Linked DNA regions of Homo sapiens: regions 1 and 2 are each linked to region 3. The links are contacts of gene promoters, found by promoter capture Hi-C in human tissues and cell types (Jung and others, 2019). All regions are on one chromosome and are shown on one strand. The core of a region is centred on a gene start or on the middle of the fragment in contact, and the rest is flanking DNA. Distances in the headings are between cores, read along the strand shown.

What was found. Contacts are between HindIII fragments. The study calls those that stand out against the background at their distance.
Region 1: a fragment that was not itself captured here is called in contact with the fragment with the promoter of SNURF in region 3 in 1 of the 25 tissues and cell types used here (dorsolateral prefrontal cortex).
Region 2: a fragment that was not itself captured here is called in contact with the fragment with the promoter of SNURF in region 3 in 1 of the 25 tissues and cell types used here (dorsolateral prefrontal cortex).

Annotation. Positions count from the first base shown.
Region 1 is chr15:23,649,590-23,652,289 of GRCh38, forward strand. No RefSeq gene overlaps it. Among named protein-coding and RNA genes, the nearest start is that of MAGEL2, 3.1 kb to the left of the region's middle. The HindIII fragment of the contact is 3,194 bases long and covers 1-2,700 here.
Region 2 is chr15:23,623,271-23,625,970 of GRCh38, forward strand. No RefSeq gene overlaps it. Among named protein-coding and RNA genes, the nearest start is that of MAGEL2, 23 kb to the right of the region's middle. The HindIII fragment of the contact is 3,876 bases long and covers 1-2,700 here.
Region 3 is chr15:24,953,599-24,956,298 of GRCh38, forward strand. SNURF (SNRPN upstream open reading frame) reads left to right here and starts at 1,389. Exons shown (of 3, transcript NM_001394334.1): 1 at 1,389-1,464. The coding sequence starts at 1,451. SNRPN (small nuclear ribonucleoprotein polypeptide N) reads left to right here and starts at 1,389. Exons shown (of 10, transcript NM_003097.6): 1 at 1,389-1,464. All of the region lies in intron 4 of SNHG14 (small nucleolar RNA host gene 14), which reads left to right. RefSeq lists enhancers at 1,804-2,369, 2,370-2,700. The HindIII fragment of the contact is 13,657 bases long and covers 1-2,700 here.

The sequences.
Region 1 (2,700 bases), core at 192-2,691, 1.3 Mb before region 3:
ATAGCTTCCGTTTGGCATACCTAAATTGCCAGGATCACTATTCTTACATTTTGGGGCTATTACTAAGTAAAACAAGGGTTCCTTGAACACAAACACTGGGAAACCGATGGTAGATCTGATATCTGAAGCAGCTACTAAGTGGTTAATGAGCAGGTAGCGAATACAGTAGCACTCCTGTGCCTGCAGTTTCACATTGTGTGGTTTCAGTTACCTGCAATCAAATGCAGTCCAAAAAATTAAATGGAAATTTCCAGAAATAATTTATAAGCTTTAGATTGCATGCCATTCTGAGTAGTATTATGAAATTGTTCTGTTTCGTCCTGCCTGGGGCATGAATTATCCCTTTGTCTAGTGTATCCATGCTGTATATGCTACCCGCCTGTTATTCACTTAGTAGCTGTCTCGGCTATCAGTTGAAAACATCGTAGTACATATAGGATTCAGTACTATTTCCAGTTTCAGGCCTCCACAGGGGGGTCTCAGAATATATCCCCCAAGGATAAGGGTGGACTACTGGACATCACTCCTGTGTATCCCCAGAGAAGGCCATCTACCACAGCACACAAAAAGCTTCTGCAGAATGGATACTACCGTGTTTCATGGTTTTCGTTTCTCCCTTGGGTTAATGGCCCAGATCCACACAGGATTTCTCAGTTTCATGGGGGTTTGGAAACACTGTAGAAGGACAAACTCTAAATGCCTAACCCTCAGGACCTGCTATTATCAACTCTGCTACATGGCTGTTACTGGCTATGGATGGCTTTGGAAAAATCAGTTTATTTTTTAGCCTAGGGCATTTCTAAAGCATACTTTTTTTCCACTCTAATGCAAATGTATAAACTACACAGAGATTAAGTTCTCCCACTAACCGTTTATTTTCGGGAATTATGACAGGTTTGTCCTGCCGTCCACCATGCTGTTGGTCATCCCACACAATGAATGGCTCCCACTAGGGTCTGGCTATTCTCACTGATGTTGGAGGTCAGTGAATAGCACTGACATACAGTGTCAACTCCCACCGAATCTGTTCTATGAAAAGAGGTCCGGTTTATGTTAAGAGGCAACACCAAAGCCAGAAAGAAAAGATTAGGCATTATACAAAGGAAAAAACAGGTGCGTAGGAGTAGTTAGAAATGGAAGATGAATAACTTCTACACCAGCACTATTGCCACTGCTTGGAAACATTCTTTAACCGGCAGGGAAAAATCAGAGATTATGTATCCATTGATTCTATAGGAACAAGTAAAGAGGGTAAACCCAGTTTATTCTCCCTGGAAGAAACATCTGCTTATTTCAGATAGTCAGTGCTCTCAGACCCAGGCTGTTCCTGGGGCTCTCCCTAGCTATTTACAAATTACTTGTGAGCAAAATTCACCTGAGGAAACAGGGACATACGGGTCGTTTTTGAAAACTGACTGCCTTAATCACAGCAAAACATAATATTGCCCTGAGTCTAGTGAGGCATTAGACCACAAGTGTTGGGTCTTCCCAAATCACTCCTGTGAAACCTTCCTGCTTCCTGAAGCCCTCTTTCCCTTTCTGTGCATATGTTCTTCCTCCTCAACACCTTTGAACCAAGTGTTGTCAAAATTCCCTTTCCTCACTTTTATATGAAACAGCTTGAAAATTCAAGGTGAGTAGAAAACAAAAGGGAAAAACATACAAAACATCCATGAAATGTTGGCCTCTGTTCCCTAATTAGAAAGGACTTTTAATGGCTTACGTCAGTATATAACAGCAGTATACAAAATGATTTTTAAAAACAGGGAAGGGAGAACTGAAGTATTGTGATGGGAGTAGGAAAATTGCGGAACTAGGAGCAGACGGGAGCCTGTTTTGCTCACCTTGGTATCCCCAGCTCGCATTGAGTGGTCACTAAGGAGCTACAAAATGAAATGGTAAGATTAGCACCAGAACTGCCTGTCTTCCAATCTTCTGTAGCTGTTAGACTTTGTGTAAATATTCATAAGTGAGTAACAAAATCAGTTATGATTTTCATAAACTCTAAAATTACTTATTTATGAAATACCTTTTATTAAGCATTCACTATATGCCCAGCACTGTGCTATAGATAAGACTACAGAGAAAAATCTGATGCAAGTCCTATTTACATCTATTGTTAGTCACATAGGGACATTAATCTAATCTATCGTTAGTCACATAGGGACATTTCACGAATCTATTGTTAGTCATATAGGGATATTCATATGGTTTTTTAGTACAATAAGGTGTTGTCGCATTGTTTAAACCTCATATTGGTCATAGAGGATGAAAATAATCAAATACTCACTTCTGCTTGGAACATGGGGTGAGGGGAGCTGTGATGCTGATTGTAGCAGTGAAAAGAAAGAAAACAAACCTGAGGCTGTGAAAGATTCATGTGATCCAGATAGACAGTCTAAGTAGAAAAATTATTTAAAAAGCATAGGAGATATCATAAGTATGAGGTTTGAAAAAAAAAGAATTGGAAGGATTAAAATAGTGTAACTACTAGTTATCAACAATTTATTATTTGATAAAATACCATCCTCAGAGTATAATAGACTCTATTCATTGATTTCTCACAAAATCCATAAGTATTTGGCTTGATTTTACATGGCAAGAATTTGAGGCTCAGAAGATCTAGCAATACATATCAGAATTCAGATTTAAATCCCAATCTATTCGTTGTGAGAGCTTGCATTCTTTTTTTTTCTTTTT
Region 2 (2,700 bases), core at 146-2,645, 1.3 Mb before region 3:
TGTTAGTTTGCTTAGGATAATGACTTCCAGCTCCATCCATGTTGCTGCAAAGGGCATTATCTTGTTCTTTTTTATGGCTGCATAGTATTCCATGGTGTATATGTACCACATTTTCTTTATCCAGTCCACAGTTGATGGACATCTAGGTTGATTCCATGTCTTTGTATTGTGAATAGTGTTATGATGAACATACACATGCATATGCCTTTATGGTAAAAAAATTTATATTCTTTTGGGTATATACTCAGTAATGGGATTGCTGGATCCAATGGTAGTTCTGTTTTAAGCTTTTTGAGAAATCTTCAAACTGCTTTCCACAATGGCTGAACTAATTTATATCCTCAATAGCCATCCTTTTTCTCTGCAACATCATCAACATGTGCTTTTTTTTGTTTGTTTGTTTTTTTTACTTTTTAATAATAGCCATTCTGACTGGTATGAGATAGTATGTCATTGATGTTTTAATTTGTATTTCTTTGATGATTAGTGATGTTGAGCAGTTTTTCATATCCTTGCTGGCCACGTGTATGTCTTATTTTGAGAAATGTCTGTTCATGTTCTTTCAGCATTTTTAAATGAGATTGTTTTTAACATGTTGATTTGCTTAAGTTCCTTATAGACTCTGGATATTGGGCCTTTGTTGGATGCATATTTTGTAAATATTTTCTCACATTTGTAAAAATAAGTATATGGCTTTATTTCTGGATTCCCTAACCTGTTCTGTTGATCTTTGTATCTGTTTTTGTGTCAGTACCATGATGTTTTGGTTACTGTAGCCTTGCAGTATAGTTTGAAGTTGGGTAGAGTGATGCCTCTAGCTTTGTACTTTTTGCTTGGGATTGCCTTGGCTATTTGGGCTCTTTTCTGTTCCATATGAATTTTGGAATAGTTTTTTTCTAATTCTGTGAAAAATGTCCTCGGTAGTTGGATAGGAAAAGCATTGAATCTATAAATTGTTTTGGGTAGTATGGCCATTTTAACAATATTGATTCTTCCTATCCATGAGCATGAAATGTTTTTCCATTTGTGTTGTCTCTGATTTCTTTCAGCAGTGTTTTTTAATTCGTGTTGTAAAGGTCTTTCACCTCCCTGGTTAGCTGGATTTCTATATATATTATATTTTTTGTATGTCTAATGTGAAGGGGATTGTGTTGTTGATTTGGCTCTCAGATTGGATGTTATTGGTATATAAAAATACTACTGATTTTTGTACATTGATTTTGTATCCTAAAACTTTGTTTAAGTTGTTTATGAGACCTAGGAAGCTTTGGACAGATAACATGGCGTTTCCTTAGGTATAGAATCATACAATCTGTGAAGAGAGATAGTTTGACTTCTTTTCTTCTTATTTGGAGCCTTTTATTGCTTTCTCTTTCCTCATTGCTCTAGCTGGGACTTCCAGTACTATGTTGAATAGAAATGGTGAGAGTGGGCATCCTTGTTTTGTTCCAGTTCTCAAGGGGAATGCTTCCAGCTTTTGCCCATTCAGTATGATGTTGGCTGTGGGTTTGTCACAGATGGTTCTTATTATTTTGAGGTATGTTCCTTCGATGCTTAGTTGATTGAGGGCTTTTAACATAAAGGGATGTTGAATTTTAGTGAGAGTCTTTTCTACATCTGTTGAAATAATCATGTGTTTTTTGTTTCTAGTTGGTTATGTGATTAATCACATTTTTTAAAATTTGCATCTGTTGAACCAACTTGGCACCCCAAGAATAAAGCCTACTTGATTGTGGTGGATTATCCTTTTGATGTGCTGCTGGATTCATTTTGCTTATATTTTGTTGAGGATTTTTACATCTATGTTTATCAGGGATATTGGCCTGAAGTTTTCTTTTTTCATTGTGTCTCTACCAGGTTTTGATATCAGAATAATGCTGGCATCACAGAATGAGTTAGGGAGGAGTCCCTCCTCCTCTATTTTTTGGAATAGTTTCAGTAGTATTGATACTACTGAATCTCTTTATATGTCTGATACAATTCAGCTGTGAATCTCTCTGGTCCAGGACTTTTTGGGGTTGGTATTTTTTAAATTACTGATTCAATTTTGAAACTTATTATTGGTATGTTCAGGTTTTCAATTTCTTCCAGATTCAATTCCAGGAATTTAACCATTTCCTCTAGGTTTTCTAGTTTGTGTACATAAAGGTGTTCATAATAGCCTCTGAGGACTTTTTGTATTTCTTTGGGATTAGTAGTAATGTCCTCTTTGTCATTTCTTATTGTGTTTATTCGGATCTTTTTACTTTCTTTGTCTAGCTAGCAGTCTACCAATCTTATTTATTATTTTAACGAACATGCTTTTGGTTTCTTTGATATGTTTTACATGGTTTTTCTCATCTACATTTCATTCAGGTCAGCTCTGATTTGGGTTATTTATTTTCTTCTGTTACCCTTGTCATCAGTTCGCTCTTGCTTTTCTAGTTCCTTTAGGTGTGATTTTAGTTTGTTAATTTGAGGTATTTCTAACTTTTACATGTAGTCATTTAATGCTGTAAACTTTCCTCTTCACACTGTTTAGCTGTGTCCCAGATATTCTGGTATGTTGTATCTGTGTTTTCATTAGTTTCAAAAAATGTCTTGATTTTTGCCATAATTTTATTGTTTACCCAAATTCAGTAGTAGATTTTTTAATTTCCATGTAATCGTGTGATTTTGAGAGATCTTCTTGGTATTGATTTCTATTTTTACCGTACTGTG
Region 3 (2,700 bases), core at 139-2,638:
GCGTAAGCCACTGTGCCCAGCCTACATTTTATTTTTCGATTGACTCCCGTGATCAGAGTCAACTTCCCATGTTATTTTATGTGAATATGTATCAATGAACTATTAGAAATTGCAATGTTTTTGTAGGTCAAAACAATTCAATATTGACAATTTTATATGATTCAGCCTAATACATCATTTTTTCCATCAGCCATATTGCATGTTATTATTTATATATACGTTTATTTAGTTAGCCTATCTGTTCTCTGTGAGGAACATTACACAGTTTCTGAGATTTTGTTACGATAGAAGTCAGCATTGATAAGCCTCTGCGCACCTGTTTTAATGTAGGATCATTGGGAACTGAGCAGTAGCTTACAGGGCTTGGGAGGGGATTTAACCATTTAGTCAACCTCCACTCACATCACCCTCCCTTCTTCGATAATGGGCAATTGAGAAAGGGCAAATGTGTGTAAAAACTATGCAGATGCAGTTTCAGGATTATTTTCTTCTTTTCTGCAGTGTCTTTTCCCAAGCTACATCAGCGTCTAAATTTTGGAGTTACTGATGCTTCCGTTATTTCTGCAGATAGAATATTATGTCGTAAATAATGTTTACTTGTCCATTAGTATTATATAAAAGTGCCTGTTTCTCCCCACTCCAGCTATCATTGATTATTGGTAAAAATTTTAATGTATCCAATTCTAATAGGCAAAGAAAGGCTCTCCTACTTAGATCTTAGGTGGGGGTCTAAGTTCATATTTTTGTTTTACAAAAATTGAATAGCCAGTGTTTTTGAGTTGAATGATCTATCCATTCCGTATAGGAGAGTTTAATTATATTGTGATTTTGGGGGAGATAATTTTCACAATTTACCCCCTCAAAATGTAGAAAGTAGAAAAAGGGTAGAAAAATCGCACCAAATTTGAACAATGTAGCATGCTTTTAGAGTTAGGGATATTTTCTTTTGGAAGGATTTCAAGTCTGGCGTATTTGCATTGATTGTGGTTATGGCGCATTTAACTTTTCCAAACCAGCTTTTTTGTACCGCACATAGGAAGACCTGAGGGTGAGTGTAAATTAGGATTGTTTGGCCAGTGGTGTGTGCAAAAATTTATTGTAGAACCAAGAATTATTTCTTTAGTATTTTACACATTTTAAAAAACAGGTAGACATGTCCATTGATCCCAGGTTGCTTATGGTTTCTAGAGGCCCCCTCTCATTGCAACAGTGCTGTGGGGCCCTAGGGGTCCAGTAGCCCCCTCCCCCCAGGTCATTCCGGTGAGGGAGGGAGCTGGGACCCCTGCACTGCGGCAAACAAGCACGCCTGCGCGGCCGCAGAGGCAGGCTGGCGCGCATGCTCAGGCGGGGATGTGTGCGAAGCCTGCCGCTGCTGCAGCGAGTCTGGCGCAGAGTGGAGCGGCCGCCGGAGATGCCTGACGCATCTGTCTGAGGAGCGGTCAGTGACGCGATGGAGCGGGCAAGGTCAGCTGTGCCGGTGGCTTCTCTCAAGAGACAGCCTGGGGAGCGGCCACTTTTATTCATCAGATATTCCAAGTTTTTAGGACTTGGAGTACTGAATAAACGGAATTTGGGCCCTAAAGTCCTTTGTTCTGGAGAACCAGATCCGGAATGTTCAGAGGCTTGCTGTTGTGCCGTTCTGCCCCGATGGTATCCTGTCCGCTCGCATTGGGGCGCGTCCCCCATCCGCCCCCAACTGTGGTGTCGCGACAGGTCCTATTGCGGGTGTCTGCGGTGGGAAGGGCGGTGGTGACTGGGAGCATGCGGGGTAACCGCAGTGGGCAAGGGACATGGGTGGAGGTGGGTACATCAGGGTGATTGCAGTTCCGTGTGGCGAGGGTACGTGGGGGGACCAGTGCATAGGGATTTTAGGCGGAGGTAGGTATATTGGAGTGATTGTGGCGGGGCGAAGGTACGTGAAGTGATCGGTATTTAGGGGGTGTTGAGCGCAGGTAGGTGTATAATAGTGACCACTGCGTGGTGGAGCAGGGTACGTGGGGCGACTGGGGGGGGAATTCGTCGCAGTGACCGAGGCGAGGAGGCTATGGCAGTGGACCAGGGGGATGAGTCGGTGTGACAGTGGTGGGGGTTGTGTTGGTGGTCGCGGCGCGGGGAGAGTCCGTAGGAAGTGGCTGGGAGGTAGGGGGAAGGCGGCGACAGTGGGTATTGGCGGCGGTGGGCATTGGCAGCGGGTAGGCATGGCGGTGGTGGACTTTGGCGGCGGTAGGCATGGCGGCGGTGGGCATGGCATGGAGGCGGTGGGCATGGCGGCCGCGGGGCCTGTCGCTGTCCGGAGTGACTAAGGGACGCTGAATGATTGCTGTGTAGAGGAGGGGGCATCAGAAGGGGCAGTAGCACAGTCCGCAGCCTTTAATTTTCCTGTGACCTGCGATGGTCATCTGGTTTGCCTACTGTGGTGGTGGTGCTTTTTTATTAAAACTGCGCAATGCCTACACTGCCGCAGGGGCTGCAGAAATGCGTGGAATCCTTGCGTACCCTTTAGGAACCCTCGCTTTAGAGGCTATGGCATAAGAAGACTGGAATGATGTGCAGAACTTGCATTTACAGATCTTTTGACTGATAGGCCAGGTGATGCCTGGGGGTTACTTTTTTTTCATTGTTTCTCTCTGTTGGGAACCAGGTCTTGGAAGGCTATGTCGAAATAACCTGGGGGTCTGTGTTGCGTCACTGCCATTGTGC